Linked DNA regions of Homo sapiens: region 1 is linked to region 2. Evidence: promoter capture Hi-C in 16 types of primary human blood cells and fetal thymus (Javierre and others, 2016). All regions are on one chromosome and are shown on one strand. The core of a region is centred on a gene start or on the middle of the fragment in contact, and the rest is flanking DNA. Distances in the headings are between cores, read along the strand shown.

Region 1 (5,572 bases), core at 1,613-4,112, 120 kb before region 2:
TGGGCACTGGTTCTCCAAATCAGGTGCAGGAGAGTGAAGTGGACTCTGAACACATTTGAGGTCGGATCGAACTCCCTCCCACATCTCCACCACACACACACCCCAATACCACCACCACCACCAGGTCATTGCCTTGTCTGGAACTGGAAGTAGAGAGCCTTAGAGAGAGTGATCCCCTGAATGGACGATACCTGACAGCAAGCCTCTCAGGCTGTTTTCCCGAGAGGCTTTTCTGAACATCAGAGTCATGAAGATATGGTTGGAGGGTTTTAGTAATAGAGAGCACAGTTGGAGACCTTAAAATATACTGGCCATAGCTTCTTAGGTTTGGGAACCTAGACAGGCCTTTACAGATGCTTTGAAAATCCAACTTGTTCATCCTGTTTTTTCATCCTCCACCAAGTGAACATATCCATCTATCACTCCATCCATCTAGTCATTCATCCATGCACTGCTAGACCTACATGTCCCTTACTCTTCTCTCTTCCTTTCAGTCTTCCATCTTTCTGCCATCTTTCTATTCACCTATTATTCCTTCCTTCCATTTCTCCATCCTTTCACTCCTCCATCCATCCATCCTTACTTTAATTTCTACTTTCATTCTTTCACTTGTCCTTTATTCCATTTTGTCATCTATCCTTCCATTTTCCCTTTTACCCTTCCACCTGTTCAGATTTCTATCCATTCACCCATCCATGCATCCATCCATCCATGCATCCATCCATCCATCCATCCATCCATCCACCCATCCATCCATCCATCCACTCATCCATCCATCCATCCATTCATCCACCCACCCACCCCCCCACCCATCCATCTATCCATCCATCTATCTATCCATCCACTCATCCATCCATTCATCCATTTACCTATCCATCCATCCATCCATCCATCCATCCATCCATCATTCTTTTCCTTCTTCTTGCCATCCTTTCTTCCAACTACCTTCTCAGCCATCCAGTAAACATGCATTGATTTCCTACTTATACTAAACATGGAGGATAGAGAGTTAGAGAAGAGTTTGCCCTCTTTATACTTCATACTTGATGGGGATTTAAATATGTAAAAATTCATGCATTAATCCTTTATGGGAGCAATTGCAGAAGTCTGCATTAGGTACAGCGAGGACATAAAGAAAGCAAGTCTGTCCTGTCTGAGTTGGGAGGAGAAAACCTTCATGGAGGAGGTGACCGTGGTACCTGATTTATCCCTCTTGCCTCATCTCCCAAGTTCAATTTTCAGATCTTTGAAAACCAACAGCTACAGTGGATTTGATGTGCATTCTAGGGTCCTGGGTGGGAAGCCTGAATCCCTGGTGATTCTTACTGCCAGAACATTTATGAAGGTAGGAAAAGCCACAAGGGAGCTCTCCTGTGGAGGACTGGAGAGAATTATGAATCTGAATTACCTCATGGATGGTCGATGATACTGTTTTCTGGAGAATAGGTACAAATTCCTCCACAGGAGAGAATGCATTGGGTGCCAGGACCTGATATAGACTTAATTTCTTGGCTGAAAAAAAAGTGTGAGGTTGGAGGCACTGCCTGAGAAGCTCCAAAGGGTTCAAGCCTTTTATTTTTTTGAGACAGGGTTTTGCTCTGTCACCCAGGCTAGAGTGCAGTGGCACAATCATAACTCACTGCATCCTCAAACTCCTGGGCTCAAGGTATTCTCCTGCCTCAGCCTACCTGAGTAGCTGGGACTGCAGGTGCATGCCACCACACCCAGCTAATTTTATTTTTTATAGAGATGGGGTCTTGCTATGTTGCCTAGGTTGGTCTCATATCCCTGGCCTCAACTGATCCTTCCTTCTTGGCCTCCCAAAGTGCTGGGATTGCAGGTGTGAGCCACTGTGCCCGGCCGGATTCAAGCCTTTTAGTCAGTCACCTGTTTCCTGGGTTCTGCCCTCTTTGGAGATTTACCTTTCAGACCATTGACCTTAAGCCACTCTGCAGAAGTCTTGTCCAAGTTTGGAAACTCAATGGTGAGAGGAGCGTCATGCTTTGGGGGTTTAGGCAAGAGGCTTATGAGTGGCCCATTTGTAATCTCTGTGGAAATCTAAGTTAAATGAGAAAGCCCTCATTACATAATCATATTTTAGAGCTGAAAAGTCCTCAGTCTTCACCCTCCACCCAGTCAATGCAAGTGGAGCTTCTTAAACACTCCCTGGTAGATTAAAGGCAGTTTTGCCTTTCCCTTCCATCATCCCCTCCCCTTCTCTGCAGATTTCTGGAATTTCCAGGGGAAGAGGAAGGAGTACCCAGCAACTCGCTCTCACAGTGGCCCATGCTCCTGGCTCCTTCCCTAACCTTACCATGAAGATCAGCACCATGGACTCCAAGGTGACAGGTCACCCCTAAAAACTCCTGCAGCAAATCACTTAGTGAGCTCCCACCTGGCCACCCTGTGGCCACATTGACAAAGTAAAGAACTGAGGCGCTGAGAGATTAAATTACATAGCGAATGTGTAAGTAAAAATAGAACAGCAAGTCCCAAACTTCAGAGATTTGAGCACTGCCTTCATGAATTTTGCTATATCTGAGTGCTACTGTATTATTATTAATATTTTAAGAATCAATATGTAACATTAATGCTTTTTAGTTATTAATTTTCTTTAATTTTAAAAATTCAATCCCTTTCACAATTTTAGAAAGAAGATCTATGATGACCATAATGAGCTAGTTTTAAATAGATACCATTTAAAAAATAATTTAATCCATGCACCACCTAAAATCATCTTGCAAACTACAAGTAGTACATGCACTTCATTTTGGGAAACTCTTGGCAAGGTTTTGGGCCTTAGACCTGGGTTCAATCCAAACTCAATCTATTTCTATCTTTGCAATCTCAGGCAAGTTATGTAACCTCTTAACTTTGGTTTCCTCATCTATAAAAAGTAATAACATACTTACCTCAGAGTGTTAAGATAAAGCATTTAAATAATTGAACATTGTGCCTATCTCATAATGAGGACTTAATAAATGAGAACTATTATAATTTTTTTTTTTTTTTGGGAGTCTTGTTCTGTTACCCAAGATGGAGTGCAGTGGGACTATCTAGGCTCACTGCAACCTCTGCCTCCTGGGTTCAAGAGATTCTCCTGAATCAGCCTCCCATGTAGCTGGGATTACAGGTGCCTGCCACCATGCCTCGCTAAGTTTTGTATTTTTAGTAGAGACGAGGTTTCACCATGTTGGCCAGGCTGGTCTTGAACTCCTCACCTCAAGCGATCCACCTGCCTCAGCCTCACAAAGTGTTGGGATTACAGGCATGAGCCATCACACCTGGCCAAGAACTATTATAATTCTAATACTAATTGTTATTATTGTATTTGTATATTTTTAAAATTCTTTTTTGAGACAGGGCCTCGCTCTGTTGCCCAGGCTGGAGCACAGCAGTGCCATCATGGCTCACTGCAGCCTCAATCTCCCAGGTTCAATCATCCTCCCACCTCAGCCTCCTGAGTAGCTGGAACTACAGGCACATGCCATCGTGCCTGGCTAATTTTTTAATCTTTTGTAGAGACGGTGTTTTGCCATGTTGCTCAGGCTGGTCTTGAATGCCTGGACTCAAGCGATTCTCTGGCCTTGGCCTCCCAAAGCACTGGGATTTCAGGTGTAAGCCATGGCTGAGGTGAGAATGACTCTCTTAAAGGCAGCCTATTCTGGGTGGTTGAGGTTTTCATCATTCTCCAAACTGGGGGTAAGGGAGGGGACAGTGACAGGATAGAGAGGGTGGCAGGAGCCTGCTGGTCTTTCTCTGAAATAAATTTTACAGTTAGTAAATCCACCAGAATCTTTCCGGTACCATGGTGGGCCCACCCAGCCCACCCAACTCAGAGCTCTGGGGTGCAATGGAGGGTGGGCCTTGCCTTGTTTCGATTTTAGGAAGTGACAGGCACTGGCAGCTGTGCCCCCTATGAACAGGTGAGAAAGGGGAACGAGGCCAGCTGAGTGCTGCTGGGAGAAGGCCCCAGAATTGACACTCGCACCACCTACCTCCTCCATGGTGCAGGTGAGCGCCTCACAGGGGCTGCTGTGCTGCAGGGCTTGCACGTGGCTGAGGAGGCTCTGGGCCTTCTGAATTTCTGCCAGGAGCTCATCCATGTCCCGGCTGGTGTAGTGCTGAGGGTGGCAAGAGCAATCAGACATCCGGAATCACTTGACTACCTGCAGGGGTCAACCCAGGAAGGGGCAAGCAGCCAGGCCAATGCCCAGGCAGAGGGTCAGACTCTCTCCACCAGGCCTTATACACTGGGACCCATGTGCCAGACAGAGCCTGCAGACATGCTGTGCTCCGTTTGTGCAATTGGCCTGTTGTGTTTTGTTTGTTTGTTTGTTTTGATGGAGTCTCGCTCTGTCACCCAGGCTGGAGTGCAGTGGCACAATATCGGCTCACGGCAAGCTCCGCCTCCTGGGTTCACGCCATTCTCCTGCCTCAGCCTCCCCAGTAGCTGGGACTACAGGCGCCCGCCACCACGCCCGGCTAATTTTTTGTTATTTTTAGTAGAGACGGGGTTTCACCGTGTTAGCCAGGATGGTCTCAATCTCCTGACCTTGTGATCTGCCCGCCTCGGCCTCCCAAAGTGCTGGGATTACAGGTGTGAGCCACTGCACCCATCCTGACCTGCTGTGTTTTAAAACAATTGAAGAGTTTTCTAACTGTAAAAGTGTAAAGAAACACTTTACACGCACTAGGATGGCTATAATAATAATAATAATTTATTTATTTTGTTATTATTTTTAGAGAAAGGGTCTTGCTCTGTCACTCAGGCTAGAGTGCAGTGGTGCAATCATTGGTCACTGCAGCCTCAAACTCCTGAGCTCAAGTGATCCTCCTGTGTCAGCCTCCTGAGTAGCTGTGACTATAGCCATGTGCTACCACACCAGACTAATTTTTAAATTTTTTGTAGAGATGGGCTGTCACTATATTGCCTAGGCTAGTCTCAAACTCGTGGCCTCAAATGATCTTCCTGTCTCGGCCTTCCAAAGCACTAGGATTACAGGCATGAGCCACCATGCCTGGTCAAGCCACAGGTTTTAAGATAAAATATTTCTTAAACCAGTCAGTTTCAGTCATTTACTTTACCTTTCTAACCTCTGTAGTCTGAGTCACCTGCAGAGAGAGTCTAGATGATGAGGTATCAAGATAGAGTGCTGCCTGAGCTTGGCTCCCTGCTATGAAAAGCAGGGACCTTGTGACCTTTGAATTCACTTGTGAGATGCAAACACTCATTTACTCATGGTTATTAATGGTAGGCAAGACACAGCCTGGGAGCAACCAGATGATTGCATTCTTAATCTTCCAAATGGATCTACACACATGTTTGCTAATCGTTGCCTCCCTTGTGAACACAGGGTGGCTGATGTCTAGTTATTAACTGGGACAAGGACAGTAATGGATGGATCGGTACAGAATGGATTGCTCATTTCGCTCTGCAGTGGGTTCCCTGCAGTAGCAGGAGTTGATCTAGGAGAGAAAATCGAGGCAATTCAGACTTAGTGCTTTGGTGGGAGCAGAGCTAGGCTGGGGCCTATATTAACGGCAACTGGAGTGAGACTGAGGATTCTGC
Region 2 (5,231 bases), core at 942-3,441:
GTGAGGGTGGGAAGTGTAAGTCTTTCAGCCCTGAAGGGGGATCTGGGCAGCACAGCACCCAGGACAGTTTGTATCCTGCAGTTCCACCAATCAGTGTGACCTTGGCTTACTTGGCTTGGTGGAGTGTAGAGACCTCCGCTTTAAAGACACTTTTTAGCCTGGGGTGGAGGGAAGACTAAGGGGAGGCCAGGCACTGATATGCTCCATCACAGAACCATATATGCTGATGGGCTCTATTCCCACAAACTCTTACCCTTCCCCTGCTGGTAGGAAGATGGAGGAAAAAGATGTATTTTATGATAGAATTAAGTTGGTATCTATGTAGACCCCTGCCAGACTGTTTGGAAGAGGAAAGGTGACCTGTCACAAGAAGTCACCCACAGGAGACTTGAGGTGGAGAATAGCCCTTTGTACTGGTCTCTACGACACAGGTTTTATCTAATGAGAAATCTGTCCTGGCGCTCACGCCTGTAATCCCAGCACTTTGGGAGGCCAAGGCGGGTGGATCACCCTGAGCTCAGGAGTTGGAGACCAGTCTGGCCAACATGGCAAAACCCTGTCTCTACTAAAAATACAAAAATTAGCTGGGCGTGGTGACACAGGCTTGTGGTCCCAGCTACTCTGGTGGCTGAGGTGGAAGGATCGCTTGGGCCTGGAAGGCGGAGGTTGCAGTGAGCTGAGATTTTGTCACTGCACTCCAGCCTGGGTGACAGAATGAGACCCCATCTCAAAAAAAAAAAAAAAAAAAAGGAACCTAAAGAGGAATCTGCCCTGGCTTATTGTCTGTGTAGAGCCACAGAAACAACAGAATAAGCTTGGACATAACCAGATCTACCATGGAAATCTTTGCACAGTGCCTGACACCTAATAGGTGGTTAATGACTGTTTGTTGAAGGGATGGGGCAAGGTGCTTAGCCTCTCAGTTTCATCAGACCGGGGATAACACCAGGGCCTACCTCATTAGGTTTTCTCTTTCTTCTAGAATTTACTAACTCATTTATTCATTTTTATTTTTTGAGACAGGATCTTGCTCCATCACCCAGGCTGGAAGGTGGTGACTCAATCATAGCTCACTGCAGCCTTGAATCCTGGGCTCAAGTGATCCTCCCATCTCAGCCTCCTGAGTAGCTAGGACTACAGATGTGCACCACCATGCCCAGCTAATTTTTAAATTTTTTTTATAGAGAAAGGGTCTCACTATGTTGCCCAGGCTGATCTCAAACTCCTGGGCTCAAGCAGTCCTCCTGCCTCAGTCTCCTGAGTACCTAGGATTACAGGTGTTAGACACCACACCTGGCCTAGAATTTATTTTTAATAATTTATATTTTCCTAAAATTGTCCACTTCATCTGTTTTTTAAGTACAGGTTTCAAGAGGATAGAGCCTGTGTTTCTGTGTTTGTCTTGCTTACTGTTGTGTCCCCAGTATCAGTAAATGACAGAACAGCTCCCTGTAAATACTTGTTGTATGAGTGAATGTGTGTGGGAGGAAGAATTATCTTGGAAAAAAGAAGGAAGCATTAATAGTGCCTCTCCTAATAGTGACTCATTTTTTTTTAGGCCACCCTGGGGCCTTTTCTTATTCAAAACATTCATGAAAAAAAGTGCAGTTCCAAAGCATTGGAGCTACTGATGTAACAATTTTTTTAAAATACCATTATTAGAAGTGCAGCGGGGGATTCTCTGATCTTCTAGGTATTCTGTGATCTCCTGTGATCTTCTGGCTGTGATCTTCCTCTGCAGACCACCTCACATCTTTGAGACACCCTCCTCTGTGCCTTCTCCCCCTCCCTATTTCTTAGGTTCACCAAGAATGAATGAAGAAGCCAAGCGCGGTGGCTCATGCCTGTAATCCCAGCACTTTGGGAGGCTGAGGCGGGCAGATCGCTTGAGCCCATAGTGCAACAGTTGTGTTGAGCCTGAGCAACATAGTGAGACCCCCACCCCCTGCCCGTCTCTTAAAAAAAGAAAAAGAAAAGAAGGAATGAAGAAACCACCGTGGGTCAGGCACGGTGCTAACCTCTGCAGAAGTTTCCATACAGTACAATGGTGTGCAATGCCCACGCCACGTTTTGCAGGGTCCACGGGAAGCCTTGCGGCGACCTCACTGCCGCCCAATTTCTGGGCAGTGGCGGCGCAGCGCCCCCTGGCGGCCATCCCGAGGGCAGTGCCCGCGGGCAAGGTTCGAAACTGTTGGCATTGGGACTGACTCCAGCCTCTGCTCCGGGAGGCCCTCCCGGGCTGCCTGACCTCCCGGGACCATGCAGAAGGCCTCCCACAAAAACAAAAAAGGTAACTGGGGAGAAGGAAGCGGGTGAAGAAGCCCTGGGGACCAAGCCTTCGTCAATGTTCCTCCTCTGTAAAATGGCAACGGTGCACTCTTGGCCTGGGAGATAACCTCTCTCCATCGTTGTTGTTATCATCATCATCATTATCATCATCATCATCATCATCATCATCATCATCATCATCATCATCATCATTTGAGAAGGAGTCTTGCTTTGTCCCCCAGGCTGGAGTGCAGTGGCGCGATCTCAGCTCACTGCAACCTCTGCCTCCCAGGCTCAAGTGATTCCTCTGCCTTAGCCTCCCGAGTAGCTGGGATTACAGGTGCCTGCCACCATGCCCAGCTAATTTTTTATTTTTAGTAGAGATGGGATTTCACCATGTTGGCCAGGCTGGTCTCAAACTCCTGACCTCAAGTGATCCGCCCGCCTTGGCCATCGTTATTTTTATCAAGGTATAATTTCCATGCAGTAAGATCCCCCCTTTTAAAAGTACAGCTACCGTTTTGACAAGCTATACCCACGTTGAACCACCCCCTCCATCAAGATAGGGAACAGTTCCACCACTCCCTAAAATTACTTTGCAATGCCCAGTTGCAGCCAAACCCCACCCCACTGCAGCTCCTCACACCCCCATCTGTTTTTTACAGCGTTTTTTTTTTTTTGCCTTTTCCATGGAGAACATCATAAAAATGAAATCACATAGTAAGGAGCCTTTAAAAAATTATACCAATGTAAATAGGGACTTTGGCCCTTTCATTTTTATTAAAAGGGCACATAAATCTTAAAATAGCATATGGGTCACTGTATTTTATTTTTAGAGACAGAGTCTTGTTCTGTCGCTCAGGCTGGAGTGCAGTGGTATGCTCCTGGCTCACTGCAGCCTCCAATTCTTGGGCTCAAGCAATCCTCCTGCATCAGCCTCCCATAGCTGGGACTGTAGGCATGCACCACCACATTCAGCTAATTTTTTTTTTTTTTTTGAGACAGAGTCTTGCTCTGTGACCCAGGCTAGAGTGCAGCGGCATGATCTTGGCTTACTGCAACCCCCGCCTTCCAGGCGGGTTCAAGCGATTCTTGCCCCTCAGCCTCCAGAGTAGCTTGGATTACAGGCGTGAACCACCACGCCTGGCTGATTTTTGTGTTTTCAGTAGCAACGGTGTTTCACCATGCTGGCCAGGCTGGTCTCGAACTCCTGACCCCAAGTGATCCGCCCACCCTCGGCCTCCCAAAGTGCTGGGATTACAGGTGTGAGCCACCATGCCCAGCCTAAATAGAAGAGATGAGGTGTCACTATGTTGCCCAGGCTCTAATCACTTTATACTTCTGCTAGCCCCCAGGTGGGCTTACTGAAGGATGCAGACTCCTGCACTGAGCAATTCTTGTTCTTTATGGCTTTTTTCCGCACAGCATCAGGATTTGATAAGACTTGAGGTTGGCAAAGAGGCTGAACTAGGCAGGCAGGTGCCAGACAGCCTTAGGCTTTTTCACTGCAGGGCTGTTGTCATTTGGACTGCTTGTCCTTGGGAAGGTTGACATTGCTGTCTGACTAGCCTTGTAGCAAAACCTGTAAGTCTTTCATATTTTAGTCTGGTGCTTGGGGTCTGGCTCTCCGAGGACCATAGTGCTGCCTCCTCCACCTGGTTGTCCCCAAACACAGCAGCTCACTCTTTTCTGAGCTCACCCTTTTCCAGGGAGGAAGCATTGAAGATCTCACTTTCAACAGCAGTAGGATCATCTTTGTCAGTACCTTCGGGTTCCAGGGTCCCTGCCACTGGGCCCTAGCGAGCACTTTCCTCAGGTTTCATGTCTAATAGTTCATCCTGAGCATGCACTGTGTGAAGAGCCTTTGCCTAAAACACATAAAATACCTTTTCCATCTTCAGTGTTTTCCTTGTCGTGGTTTTCATCCTCTAATGAAATTAATTGACTCAGCTCCTGCACTGTTACATCTGTGCTTTCCTGCTGGGTGAGCTTCTTTTCTTCTTTCTCAACTAGTTTTTTCAGAGGGTTTTGTAAGTGCTTTAAAGTAGTGACTTCATATGGCTGATAACCTGTGAAGCTCTCATGGATGGCTGCCATAGTGTGAGAAGTCTTCTCTCCAAAATGAAGCAGAGTGGTCTGGTATGTTGCTAGCATTTGAGACAGGAGATTGCATGTATTTACTTGCTCCAAGAAAATCTACATCCAACTTCACTTTGTCAAGGTTTTTTTCTCTCTCTTTTTTTTTTTTTTTTTTTTTTTTTGAGATGGAGTCTTGCTCTGTCACCCAGGCTTGTAGCTGGGATTACAGGCATGCACCAACATGCCCAGATAATTTTTTTTTGTTTTTGAGACAGAGTCTCGCCCTGTCACCCAGGCTGGAGTACAATGGCGCCATCTCAGCTCACTGCAACCTCTGCCTCCTGGGTTCAAGCGATTCTCGTGCCTCAGCCTCCCAAGTAGCTGGGATTACAGGCCCGCGCCACCATGCCCAGCTAATTTTTTGTAACTTAGAGACAGGTTTCGCCATGTTGGCCAGGCTGGTCTCGAACTCCTGATCTCGTGATCTACCCGCCTTGGCCTCCTAAAGTGCTGGGATTACAGGCGTGAGCTACCGTGCCTTGCACAAAGTTTTTTTTGTTTTTTTTTCAAGATGTACTTGTGTTTCTTGCCTTCCCGAACTTCTGCATTTGCTTATAGAGGTCTGGATCAAACTCCTGAGACATGTCCTTCTTCTGTAAGGAGCCTTTTGAGTCTGGCTTCTTTTACTTAACCCTGCTGACTTTTAAAAGTGGGCTCCTGGTAGCTTACCTTATAAGCATATTGAATTTACAAACTGAGATAGGAACCACTGGACCTTGCCCAAGATGTGACTTCTCTGTTTGCTCAGGAACCAGAGGCTCAGGCAGGGCGTATCCTGCCCCCAGTTGCTCCCAGAACCCTGAAAGGTCTCTGAAGATGGTATC

The links. Contacts are between HindIII fragments. The CHiCAGO score rates a contact against its expected background, and 5 or more counts as called.
Region 1: a contact is called between a fragment that was not itself captured here and the fragment with the promoter of PDZD9 in region 2, in 3 of 17 cell types (M0 macrophages, M2 macrophages and M1 macrophages). The highest score is 11.0, in M0 macrophages.

What each region holds. Positions count from the first base shown.
Region 1 is chr16:22,117,454-22,123,025 of GRCh38, reverse strand. VWA3A (von Willebrand factor A domain containing 3A) reads right to left here. Exons shown (of 34, transcript NM_173615.5): 12 at 3,999-4,124; 13 at 1,923-2,058; 14 at 1,409-1,512. Among named protein-coding and RNA genes, the nearest start is that of VWA3A, 28 kb to the right of the region's middle. The HindIII fragment of the contact is 6,294 bases long and covers 1-5,572 here.
Region 2 is chr16:21,998,076-22,003,306 of GRCh38, reverse strand. PDZD9 (PDZ domain containing 9) reads left to right here and starts at 2,191. Exons shown (of 4, transcript NM_001363519.1): 1 at 2,191-2,290. The coding sequence starts at 2,260. It also overlaps the pseudogene LOC100420536. RefSeq lists an enhancer at 1,996-2,045. The HindIII fragment of the contact is 4,622 bases long and covers 817-5,231 here.